Linked DNA regions of Homo sapiens: region 2 is linked to region 1. Evidence: promoter capture Hi-C in 16 types of primary human blood cells and fetal thymus (Javierre and others, 2016). All regions are on one chromosome and are shown on one strand. Each heading gives the region's core, a stretch centred on a gene start or on the middle of the fragment in contact. The rest is flanking DNA. Distances are from core to core; before and after follow the strand shown.

The links. The method cuts DNA at HindIII sites, captures the fragments that hold promoters and counts their contacts. A CHiCAGO score of 5 or more calls a contact.
Region 2: a contact is called between a fragment that was not itself captured here and the fragment with the promoter of EFEMP1 in region 1, in 1 of 17 cell types (M1 macrophages). The highest score is 5.4, in M1 macrophages.

The regions. Positions count from the first base shown.
Region 1 is chr2:55,922,504-55,929,073 of GRCh38, forward strand. EFEMP1 (EGF containing fibulin extracellular matrix protein 1) reads right to left here and starts at 1,279. Exons shown (of 12, transcript NM_001039348.3): 1 at 1,208-1,279; 2 at 396-436. RefSeq lists an enhancer at 839-1,338. The HindIII fragment of the contact is 8,249 bases long and covers 468-6,570 here.
Region 2 is chr2:55,756,595-55,763,486 of GRCh38, forward strand. It overlaps LOC107985811 (a long non-coding RNA gene), which reads left to right and starts at 2,607. Exons shown (of 3, transcript XR_001739192.2): 1 at 2,607-2,745. The HindIII fragment of the contact is 1,963 bases long and covers 2,043-4,005 here.

The sequences.
Region 1 (6,570 bases), core at 29-2,528:
AAACTTTAGCAGTGAGCACAAGCGAGGAAAGGAGGGTGGGAGAGGCTGAGGCTCCACCATACTCAACTTCCAATCTGCTTTCTCATCTCCCCTCCCCCTCCTGAACCTTCTCGGTAGCCAACGAACGAGGCAGCAAAGACGTAAAAACTGCTGTAGAATTGCATTTCACGTTACTCCATCCTGCTACGCTGTTTACATACAAAAGACATTCAGCGTGCATTTTATACTGCACCTACAAAGCAGGCTGCAGAAAGAGGGGGTCGAAAGGAAAAAACAGTAATCCATTTCAAAGGGGACGGTGCATTTCCTGCCCCCCAGTCCCACACCCCGGGGGATGGAGGTGGGGCTGCAAAACTCTGTTCTCTAGAACGTTAAGGCTTTCCCAGTATACTCACCTTGAGCTAGCAGAGTTCCTTGCACAGCACAGCAAAAATACCTGTGAGCCAATATGAATTGCCTTGGCCTCAAGCTTTTTATTTTTTAAACAAAATAACAAAACAAAACTCGGAGAGCAATCTTCCAGTTCTAGTAGAATACTAGACCTTCTCACATGTCTCAGAGCTTCTCACATCCCCCAGCACAAACTCTCAAAGTGGCATTTCCACGCCTTTCTCTGCGCACAGCTTTGTTTAAAAGTCCCAGGTTGTGTGGAGGGGCAGCCCAAAGCGACTGATTCTCTTTTGTCTTATCAGTCTGGGTCCCCGACACGCTACCTTCGGTTTCAGGCTGCCTAGGACCGGAACCAGGGATCGCACCGCAGCCCAAGGTACCAGTTTCGGGCGGGCGGCCTGGCCCGGCAGGGAGATGAGGTCCCCTTTCTTAACAGCAAGCTAACGCGGCGGTCCCCTGGAGCTGCTCAGCGTCCCAGCTTCTAACCAGCTCCTATGGAATCCAGGTGCGGCTTAAATCTCGCACACTGGTCCCCTAAACTTTCAAAACCACGTTTATGGGCAAAGCCCTGCCGGCTGGTTGTCGGCGCGCACACACATGCCCATCCCAACAGATGTCACCCGAGTACTCGCACTTGCTGACAGATCGCATTCCGAGGCTGCACACCTCCACCTCCCTCTCTGCCCGAGACACCCTGCACAGTCCAGGGCAGTTCTCGGGTACTCAACACCCCTCAGCTCACCCCACCTCACTCTCCCGCGCGCGGCCCAGTGAGTACTGGGCTCGCTCGGGGCGACCCCCCGTTGGGGGCTCCTACCTGTGCGGCCGCGCTGCGCTCCGGGCCCGGGCAGCGAGGGGAGTGCGCAGGGGAGGGCAGCCCCGTGGGTCTGATCTGGCGAAGTCCGGCAGCGGCCGCGGCGGCAGGAGGAGGAGGAGAAAGGGAGGGAAAGGGGGAGGGCGAAGGGGGGCGGAGGAGAGAGCTGAGGGAGGCGCGAGCGCTGAGCCCAGCGTTGCGAGCCCGGCGGTAGAGCGCGCAGCGCAGCGAGGTCCGCGCCCCCTGCTCCAGGGGCCCTCTTTGCCGCCCCCGCTTGCCCTCCCTTGCCAGCTCCTCGTTTCCCAGACTCGCGGGGACCCCACGCCAGAGAGGACACGTTGACATGTGATGTCCTGGATGCGCTTCAGCCTTGGGGATGCTCCCACTCTCTAGTGCGTTTTCTTCTTCTCTGAGGAGGGGAACACAGCATCTCCCTCAGAGACCAGAGGGTTCTAGAAACTGCTGTTACTTTTTTTCCCAATAAGTGAATGCTAGGAGAGTAAATTAACCCCCATTCATAGAACTGTTTCCTTTACCTTTTCTTTCGGATTTTTTTTTTTTTTTGAGGAGGTGTCTGCTTCCACAAATGGAGAAAAATGAGAATTCATCCATTCAACAAATATTTGCCACCTACTGTGTGCTTAGTGTTGGGAATAGGCCAAATAGAACTTGCACTAACAAAATTGTGAGGTGGGGTTTGTTTTATGGTCTCTCAAACCTCCCTTTATGATAACAAGTGTTGGCAAGAATGGAGAAAAGGGAATGCTTGTATGCTGTTGGTGGAATGTAAATTAGTACAAACATGATGGAAAATTGTATGGAGGTTTCTCAAAAAACTGAAAGTAGAATTATCATATGATCCAGCAATCTCATTTCTGGGTATTTACTGGGAAGATTTGAAATCAGTGTGTTGAAGAGACGTCTGTACTTTCATGTTTATTGCAGCACTATTCACAATTGCCAAGATATGGAATCAACCTAAGTGTCCATCAAGGGATAAATGGATAAAGAAAATGTGGCATATATGTGTGTGTGTATACAAATATAATATATATTATATATATAAACACATATATATATAAAATATGTACACACATATATTTTAGATATATATGCGTTTTTAAGGCTAAATAGTATTCCATTGTGTGTGTGTGTGTGCGCGCGTGCATGTGTATATGAGCCCATTCTTCTGAAAAGTATCTTTCAAGCCAGGCAAAAATGGCAGTTCACTTGAATAATTTGTATGGTAAATAGAGAAGACTTACAGTTTGTTTTAGATATTTACTCCTAGACATTTAATGTTAGTGTACTATCAAGTAAGCCTAGACTGAGTTTAGCTTCACCACTTGGCTATGTAGCCCTAAGCAAGTTAGACACTCTCTTTGATCTTCAGTTCTACCATTAATAGAAGGAAGATGATGCCACTTACCTTACACATTGCTGCAAGGATCAAAGGAGATCGTGTCTCCACAGCGGGATACTCAAAAATAGTTATTATCTTGTCCTTTAACCATGAATTATTAGGCATACAAAATTTAAAAGAGAATAGTATTCCATTTTATGTGTCTGTGTGTATGTGTGGAATACTATTTAGCCTTAAAAAAGAAATTCTGTCATTTGTGACACCATGGATGGAAGTGGAAAACATTATGCACAGTGAAATAAGCCAAATGTAGAAACACAAATACCACATGTTCTCAAGTATCTGAAAGTAACTTAAAACAATTGAACTCATAGAAGCAGAGAGTAGAATGGTGGTTACCAGAGGCTAGGGTTGCAGGGAATGGAGAGATAACAGTCAAAGAGTGTAAGCCTCAATTAGATAGGATGAATAAGGGTTGGGTGCAGTGGCTCATGCCTGTAATCCCAGCACTTTGGGCAGCCAAGGTGGGCAGATCACCTGAGGTCAGGAGTTCAAGACCAGCCTGGCCAACATGGAGAAACCCCATCTCTACTAAAAATACAAAAATTAGACACGTGCCTGTAATCCCAGCTACTCGGGAGGCTGAGGCAGGATGATCGCTTGAACCCCGGAAGGCAGAGGTTGCAGTGAGCTGAGATCATCCCTCTGAGTGACAGAGTGAGACTCCATCTAAAAAAAAAAGAGAGGAAAAGTTTGATTTTTTTAAAGTTCAATTGCACGGTGTCGTGAATAAAGCTGATAATTGAGTACTGTATATTTCATTATCACTAAGAGAGTAAATTTCAAATGTTCTCATCACAAAAAATGTCAAATATTTGAGGTGATGGATATATTAATTAGCTTGGTTTAATTATTACACATTGTATTAAAAAATCATAACACCTTGTACCCTATTAATATATACAACTATAATTTGTCAATATATAATAAAAAGTCTCCCTTTTTATGGGTTTCTTTTTTCATCTATAGCTTCTCTTTTCTTCACTTATTGACTTAGTGAAATCTCCAATACTGCTCATTCAAAGTTGGGCATTTCACTTTCACCTTTCATAGTGGAATTTCAGGAATCTGGAGAGAAAAATCTTTTTTTCTGTTTTTATCAAATCATACCACACAAATTGCAGTTACCTCTGAAGGCTCCAACTCTAAAGTCATACTAATAGCTTGCTTCCAAGGCAGCTGTCTTCTAAGAAGCAAATGGCCAAATACAATTTCATGAATGAGAAAACTTACAAACTGAAGGGGTTAAAACTTTGACTCTGTCCTTGAGCAGGAGGCAGAGCTCAGGAGGAGAGGAAAAGCTCCTTTCCTTTCCTGCTGACTCAAGGTGGGAGGGTGGTAGCGACTGCAGGAGAGGGAGGTTATCAGGTGGAAGCTGCTCTCTTTATCTCTGGGGTATCCAGTGTGGGTTACCTAGACATTGCCAGTTTGGTAGCAAGCCACACAGTATTGGACAAGATCAGAGGGGAGGTGTACAACCCTCCCTAAACCTTACTTGAGTATACAGAGTTTTGGTAATTGTATCAAATATTTTTACTATCAAAATTCTAGTGTTTTCCCCCAAGTCATTAATGACCTCCAGATTTTTTTTAAATGGATCTTTACTTTTTGTACAGTAAGAAGATCTGTGCACATGGTTTTTCCTGTTTCTCTTAAACTCTTTCTACCTGTTCCCAGCCACTTTTCCAGAAAAATGGGGTGAAAACTCTCAAATTTATATCTCCAGCCTGGAACTGTTCCTATATATCCAGCTGCCAACTTGCTATCTTCATTTGGACATCTAATGGATGTTTCAAACTGAACACAACTGCTGTTATCATCCCCCAACCTACTCCACCCACCTTCACCATCTCAGTTAAAGCAGTTTCATCTTTCTATTTGCTCAGATTCAGGACCATGGAGTCATCCTTGATTTCTCTTTTTCTGAGATATCCTGCATTCTATCCTTCAGGAAATTCTGTTGGCTTCACCTTCATGATATATCCAGAATGGAACCACTTCTCATCACCTCTTTTGCAACCACTCTGGTCTAAGCCACCACCATTTTCCAACTGTATTATTGCAACATCCTCCTAATTGGTCTCCTTGTTTACAACCTTGTTCTCCTGCAGCCTTTTTGCAGTGGGAGTTCATATGAATGAAATCATAGAGTAAATACTCTTTCGGGTCTGACTTCCTTCACTCAGCATGTTGCTTGAGATGCATCCTTGTTATTAGGTGTATGAGAAACACATTCCTTTTTATTGCTGAGTAGTATTCCATTGTATGTATATACCCTGATTTGTTTGTTTACATCTTAATAGATACTTGGATTGTTTATGAATAAATCTGTTACGGACATTCACTTCTAAGTCTTTGCTGGGATATGTTTTCTTTTAGATAAACGCTTAGGAGTGAAATTGCTGTCATATGGTAGGGGTATGTTTAACAGTATAAGAAAGTGTCAAACTGTTTTATAAAGTGAGTGTGTTATTTTATGTTCTTACCAGCAATATGTGAGATTCAATTTGCCTGAAATCCTTGCCAACTTCTGGTATTGTCAGTAATTTACAATGTTAGCCATTCTGGTGGGTGTGTAAGTGGTATTTCACTGTGGTTTTATTTTACATTTCTCTGATGTCCAGTGATGTTGAATTTTGCTTTTCGTATGCTTATTGTCCATCAATATATTTTATTTCAAATTTGTGTTCATTTCTTTATTTTTTGGTCTTATTAGTTGTAAGAGTTTTTAAAAATAGTCTTCCTGCAAGTCCTCTTCAGATTTACATTTTTCGAACATTCTTTCTAGTCTTTGTCTTGTCTTTCCAATTTGTTAATGCTGTCTCTTGAGAGCAAACATTTTAAATTTTGATAATTTTTTTTTTTTTTTTTTGAAATGGAGTCTCCCTCTGTCACCCAGGCTGGAGTGCAGTGGCACTATCTTGGCTCAGTGCAACCTCCGCCTCCTGGGCTCAAGCAATTCTTCTGCCTCAGCCTCCTGAGTAGCTGGGAATACAGGCGCACACCACCACACCTGGCTAATTTTTGTATTTTTAGTGGAGACAGGATTTCACCATGTTGGGCAGGATGGTCTCGATCTCCTGACCTTGTGATCCACCTGCCTCGGCATCCCAAAGTGCTGGGATTACAGGCGGGAGCCACTGCACCCTGCTGGATGATTTATTTAATGGAGTCCAACTTTATGGATTCAAACTGGATGCATGGATTTAGCAGAATGCAAGTGGAAATTGCAGTAAATTCACCTTCCTAAAATTGCTCTGAGCTCAGAGGAATCTGAGATTTTAAAGATTTGGGCTGGGCACGGTGGTTCACACTTGTAATCCCAGCATTTTGGGAGGCTGAGGCAGGTGATTCACTTAAGGCCAGGAGTTCAAAACCAGCCTGGTCAACACAGCAAAACCCCTTCTCTACTAAAAATACAAAAATTAGCTGGGCATGGTGGTGCGCGCCTGTAATTCCAGCTACTCAGGAGGTTGCAGTGAGCCAAGATCACGCCACTGCACTCCAGCCTGGGTGACGGAGCAAGACTGTTTCAAAAAAAAAAAAGGAAGATTTGAAGATGTATGTGGTGACAAACTCATAATTTTAGAAGAGATTCACAGATGTTGATGATCACACACTGAGCACTATGATCTATGTCTCTGTATCCTTTGGAATGTGTGTCTTAATCAAACATGTACTATCAGTGTGGCTGAGTCTTAAGAGTGCTTAATCAAAGTGTAGAGTAACTGTGTTCAACGGGGACCCACAGTGGGCATCCCTGGCATGCTAGAGACCAAGATATGAATCACAGAATTAGCCCACAGTTTCTGGCCATGTATCCAAACCAGGCAACATTTGGGTCCACTTGATTTGTGAAAGTATATTCTCCTAGGAAACTGCTGAAGGAGAAGCCAAGGCTGGAACCAGAATTGATGGAAAAAACCCTCTCCTTCTTACAGAA
Region 2 (6,892 bases), core at 1,774-4,273, 160 kb before region 1:
CTCCATTTTAACTTTTTGAGTAACTTCAACATCATTACTCCACAGAATCATTGAAATGGATAGGCAATTTATTACTAGGAAGACAAGATAAATTTAACATTGTTAGATACAATTTCCAAACCAGTTTTAACTGGAAATTCAAAATTTACTTATGTGTGTCTTCCATTGAGTTTTGGAGCTGCTAAGGAACATGGAAATCCGTGTATAAGTTCTTATATTTAGACTTCTAGAGATTTTAAATATAAATATGTATTTTAAGAATAGATTTTTTACTTTAGCATAAATTTGGCCCACTTATTCTGTGTAGCACTTGGTGGTTGTTTTTAATCTGAAGGCTACTGTATTTCTTCTATTTTGGAAAAGTTTATGCCATTTCCTCAATGCTATTTATTGGTGCTCCCATTATATATATGTTGGAGATGCCCAATGGATCTTCCATATTTTTTATAATGTGTTTGCACCTCTTTATTCCACCATAATGGGTTCTGGGTAAATTCCTAGTACTCTTTCAATATATCAATTCTGGATTCCATTATCTCAATTATTAAGGTTTTTGAAAACTTAAACTCTAATTTTTAATTTCCAGGATTTCTAACTGTATCAGTTTGTTCTTAACATTGCTATAAAGAAATACCTGAGACTGGGGAATTTATAAAGAAAGAAGGTTTAATTGGCTCACGGTTCTCCAGGCTGTGTAGGAAGCATGGCAGCATCTGCTTCTGGGAGCCCTCAGGGAGCTTTTACTCATGGTGGAAGACAAAGTGGGAGCAGGTGCATCTCACATGGCAGGAACAGGAACATGAGAGAGAGAGGAGGTGGGGGGAGGTGTCACACACTTATAAACAAGCAGATCTCATGAGAACTCACTCACCATCATGAGGACAGTACCAAAGGGGATGGTACTGAATCATTCATGAGAAACTACCCCCGTGATCTAATCAGTTCTCACCAGGCCCCACCTCCAACACTAGGGATTACAATTCACCATGAAATTTGATGTGGATGCAGACTCAAACTAAATCAATAACTTTTTTTTTCTTTTTTTTTTTTTTTTGAAATGGAGTCTTGCTCTGTCGCCCAGGCTGTAGTGCAGTGGCCCGATCTTAGCTCATTGCAACCTCTGCCTCCCGGGTTCGAGCCATTCTTCTGCCTTAGCCTCCTGAGTAGCTGGAACTACAGGCACATGCCACCATGCCTGGCTAATTTTTGTATTTTTAGTAGAGATGGAGTTTCACCATATTGGCCAGGCTGGTCTCAAACTCCTGACCTTGTGATCCACCAGGCTCAGCCTCCCAAAGTGCTGGGATTACAGGCATGAGCCACTGCGCCCGGCCAATAATTTTTTAAAAAGGCAATTTTATTGGAAAAGTTTCAGGTTCACTGCAACATTAAGAGGAAGGTACAGAAATATAGCTTTTTCCAACTTCCTTTCCATTCTCTCTCTCTCTCTCTCTTTTTTTTTTTGGATAGAATCTCGCTCTGTCATGCAGGTTGGAGTGCAGTAGTGTGATTGTGGCTCACTGCAACCTCCTCTTCCTGGGTTCAGGTGATTCTCTTGCCTCAGCCTCCTGAGTAGCTGGGATTACAGGCTTGTGCCACCACACCTGGCTAATTTTTGTATTTTTAGTAGAGACGGGGTTTCACCATGTTGTCCAGGCTGGTCTGAAACTCCTGACCTCAGGCGATCCGCCCACCTTGGCCTCCTAAAGTGCTGGGATCCACTCTTGTCTCTTATTTCAAGCAGTGTGACTGGATTTGGTCTTCTACCTCACATAGGATGCTTACAGTCTTGATTTCCCTTAAGGATGTAAATTCCTGTCTGCCTTTGCCTACTGCATCCACCAATGTATTGCTTTGTGTTTCTGTTACAATTCTCTTCTGTTAGATCCTAAATTTCATAAGAGCAGGAACTTTATTCTGTTCAGCTCAAAATCCTTTGTATAGAACAATGTCTATCACATTGTTGCTAAATAAAAACTTGTTAAGTAAATGAATGAATGAATATTTGGTTTCTGACCCACAGAAATGTTTGTCTTTTTGTAAGCTTGGCTACAATTTTTTTTCAAATTTCTATTTTATCTTTCATTGCTATAAACTTATTTGGGGTGGGGAGTGGCCCAAAACATGAATTTATGACATTATCTCGATCTGAAGTTGTGGCTGAATATATATATTAATACAGTTAGCTTTTTGCCTAATAGGAATGGATCACATGTGCTGCATTATCAGTCTTTGTTATATCTCACACAATCTTCAAATGCTTAAAGTTTTAATAATTTGAGCTTCACAAACTCAAAGTACATCTTGATTTAATTTTTCTCCATACTCTAATGGTGAATAGCATTAGAATTTTCATATGATATTTAACTTGATGGAAGCCTTTCAAAAATAGTCATCAAACATAGCTTGTCTAATTAGCCTTTTTCTGTATGATTGTAATTGTGAAAGGGCAGAAAGTACTGCAGGATATATTATGCCCAGAGAATTAATTAGAAGCATACCCCAAAGAAGATTTGGCATATGTGTTAGTTTTCTCTTGCTGCCATAACAAATTGCCACCAATTTAACAGCTTAAAACAATATCCATTTGTTTTCTCACAGATCTGTAGAACAGAAGTCTGGCATGGCATGGCGTGGCATGGATTCTTTGCTCAGAATCTCACAAAGCCAAAATCAAGGTGTTGGTAGGGCTGCATTCCTTTTTGGCGGCTATTGGGAAGAATCTGTATCCAAGCTGTATCCAAGGTATTAATCATGCCTTTTTATTTCTGTATTTTTGATGCTTTGACAACTGGGACTTTACTGGCGCTCCCGTGCCTGTACCTTCTAGGGCTAGCCAATTCCTAGAGATAGTAAATGACTTGCCTTTGAGTGTACCTTTCATATGCAGATTAGCAAACTCAGAGCCCATACCCTAACCACCTCATTTATCAGACTCACACTCAGGACCTCTTTCCACTTGCACAATTATCCCAGGGCCCAGGTACCAGGCACGTGGGGAAAACCTCTATTCTCCAGAACCCAATGTAATTTTTCTAACTAGCCAGTTCTAAACCTTCATACTCTGCCTCACCCATTTCTTCCTATGGAAACCACAATTAGGATTCTTGTGTCCTGACCAACCCTGGTGCTTCCCTGTGTGGTGTGGCGTGCCCCCTCCTTTTGGCAGCTGTAACAAACTGTCTTTTTAATGACAACTGTCTTCTGATCTTTTGGCCCACCATACCTGAATAATAATAGGACTTACATTTTAAAGCACAAACTTATTCAGGTTGTTGTCAGAATTCAGTTCCTATACTCATGCCTCCTACATGGCCCCCTTCACCTTCGAGCCCACAACAGCACATTACATCTTTCTCATACTTTCAATTCCTTTGACTCCCTTTTCTATTGCATCTCTCTGACTTCCTCTCCTGCTTTTAAGGGTAAATGTGATTATTTGGGGTCCCCTTGGATAATCCAGAATAATTTCTCTATTTTAGGGTCAGGCGATTAGAAACCTTCATTAGATCATTAACATCCTTTTACCATGTAATGAACCATAACCATAGAAGTAATCCCAGGGGCAAAGATTAAAATGCATGCCAAAATTCTGCATACCACAACATTTTAGATGTTAAATAAGAAAAGAAAAGCTGGCTTCAAAATTTGGGAAGATATTATTAGAAGTTGTAATTTTTTTTATCTGTTCACATTACTGGCTGCAGGCTTTATTTATTTATTTATTTATTTATTTATTTATTTATTTATTTAAGAGACAGTGTCTCACTGCATTGCCCAGGCGAGTCTCGAACTCCTGGGCACAAGCAATACTCTGAGTAGCTGGGACTACATATGTGTGCCATTGTGGCTGGCTTACTGGCTACAGTCTTTGAGTTTCTGTGTTAAAAATTTCTATATTAAGATGGCTTTAGAATGGTATGATGAAATAATTACTCTTTGAGAAATGGACCAGTTAAGTATGAGTCTAATTTTGCTTCTATTACGCATAAGGGCAAGATATTAAGCTTGCTTGACACTTAGACTGTGTTCTCCTCTATTTGAAATTCCTAATATTTCTCCAAGGGGAAAGGTTAGGTGTTTTTGTGTTCTTTCATGCACAATTACCCCCACAGGACTCCTTAATACTCATTGTATTTTTCCATCATAGTAACTTTATATTGACTTCAACTGCTTATATGCTTATTGGGGAAAAAGTTCTGAGGCATAATTATACATTGATAGTTTAAAAAGTCTGACTTACATTGTCTAGTACTTGAACACAATTAAAAATACCTTATTTGCTGCAATTTATACAGGACCAAATAATGCAAATGTAAAACATCTCAAAGACAAACATTTTCCAAGATCATTTTGTCCCATTACCTGGGTGCCTTTTGAAATGTTTGCAAGTGTGTTCTTCTTGTCCTACAAGTGCTTAGTCCCTCACTTCCTCTAACCCTGTCTTCCTATGCCCTTTTCTCTTCCTTTGTCATTTAAAAATTTTTCTTATGTCTGCTCTTTGCTTTTTCCCTTCTCCATTTTATATTTATTTCTCTGTGTGCATGTCCTAATCTTGCTTTATGGATTTCCTCACTATGTGATTTCATCACTCACTTTGTTTATCCTAGTTTTTCAATTTCCTTGGATTGCTGTTTCCTTTTTCTTTTCATTGTGTTTTTTCCAACAAGCATTGTTGCCTCATATCATTTGCTCCTCAAACACAGTATTTTTTTCCAAAACATATCTATGCAATTTTTTGGCAAATAAACCTGTAGTACCCACTGAAGTCTACTGCTAGAAGAGGTAAGAGTAGTAATATTAGTGATAGTAATTGGCAATGTGAAGTTGAGTTTAGATATAGGGTCTTCCTCACCCTATTCCCAGTTACTCAAATTTTAGCTTTAGTTTTCCATCTTCAGAATTTTACGGATTGGAATAACATAATGAGGACAGATAACCATCCGAAGGTTAAGTGTTTTTCAATTTCTTGCCCAAACAGGAGGGCATGGCAGTCTTATGTGTTGGCTCAGGTTCAGAGGCATGCTTCTCATGTTTTTCATGCCTTTGTAAAAGAAGTTCAGAGTTGCTCCAGCCCTAACATCTCATATGCCAAGAGTTCTGAATTTATCCCTGTAGGGTATGCTGTGGTTAGTACACTATGTGCTTAATGAGTCTCTGTTTGGGGATAAAGCTTGACTCTGAGCTCCTTCAAATCTGAACTGTCATTATTTTCTCAATGTAAGTTACATTGACCGTAGCCTTGCCATTTGCTTGGTATGCTGCTCTGCTGCTGCTTTAACTCATGAAAGATGGGTGAAGTTTTCATTTGGCCATGGTAGTTTCAACAAAACCAGAGTTGGCTTTTGCAAAATCATTTTGCTTTTGAGGCCTGGCCTTTGAAAACCATTAGGATCTTTTGCAAGGCTTTTAAGGAAAATATTTTGTGAGAGTCAAGTCCAGTTTTGTTTTGTTTTTAAACTGCCACTATCAGGGGAAATCTGGGCAGAGGAATCAATTCCCCCTGTTTTCAGAGTTTAAACAATGCTGTACAAGATGCAAATGGGTAGCACTTTGCCTGTTAGGATCTTTCCACTACTTTTTCATCTGCTACAATTATTAAACAAACAAACAAACAAAAACCCAACAGCAAGTGATTCAGGTCTCTTTTTTTTCTTTGTTTCTTGGTTATTCAGGGCTTCTCTTCCCTGATATGACACAAGGAGCCTCCCATAAATGCCTGGCCTCAGAGATCCTCTTGCCTCGGTCCTCAATGAGTTATAGAGTATCATACTGTCTATGCTAGGCTTAAGATCAGGATCGCTAACTTGATGTAGAGTTTATATTCAGATTTCCTTTCTCTCTTTCTTCTTTCTTTCTTTCTTTCTTTCTTTCTTTCTTTCTTTCTTTCTCTCTCTCTCTTTCTTTCTTTTCTTTCTTTCTCTTTCTCTCTCTCTCTCTCTCCCCTTCCTTCCTTCCTTTCTCTGTCTCTCTCTCTGTCTCTGTCTCTCTCTCTCTCTCCCTTTCACCCTTTCTTCCTTTCTTCCTTTCTTCTCACTCTGTCACCCAGGCTGGAGTGCAGTAGCATGATCACAGTTCACTACCGCCTTGACCTCCTGGGTTCAATTGATCCACCTGCCTCACCCCCTGAGTAGCTTGGACTACAGGCATGCAGCACTACGCCTGGCTAATTTTTATATATTTTTTGTAGAATAGGGTTACGCCATGTTGCCCAGGCTGGTCTTAAACTCCTGGGGTCAAGCAACCTGCCTGCCTCAGCCTCCCAAAGTGCAGGGATTACAGGCATAAGCCACCATGCCCAGCCTCCCTTCATACTCTAAAACTTACAATACATTGAGGTACTAAAGATTTACACACACACACACATCTTCCACAGTGTGAAAAGAAAAAAAAATGTAACAGGAAAGATTTAAGCCCAAAATAAAGTAGAATTTATTTTCTTTCTTTTTCTTTAATTCCTTCCTTCTTTCCTTTTTTTAAAGACAGGTCTCTCTCTGTTACCCAGGCTCTAGTGCTATGGCATGGTCACAGCTCACTGACCTCCTGGGCTCAAGGGATCCTGTCATCTCAGCCTCCTGAGTAGCTGGGACTATAGGCACGTGCCACTATGCCTGGCTAGTTTTTAAAATTTTTTTTGTAGAGATGGAGTCGGGGTTGGGGGTGGTCTCACTATATTGCCTAAGCTGGTCTTGAATTCCTGGCCTCAGAGATCCTCTTGCCTTGGTCCTCAAAGTGTTGGGATTGGAGGCGTGAACCATCCCACCTGGCCTAAAGTCGAATTTCTTGAATGCTGAGATTATTAAGGGATTTAGTATTGATAGAGAATCCACTATCTACCTACACTTACATATATCATCTTATTTAATTCTGCTAACTACCATGTGAGGGAGGT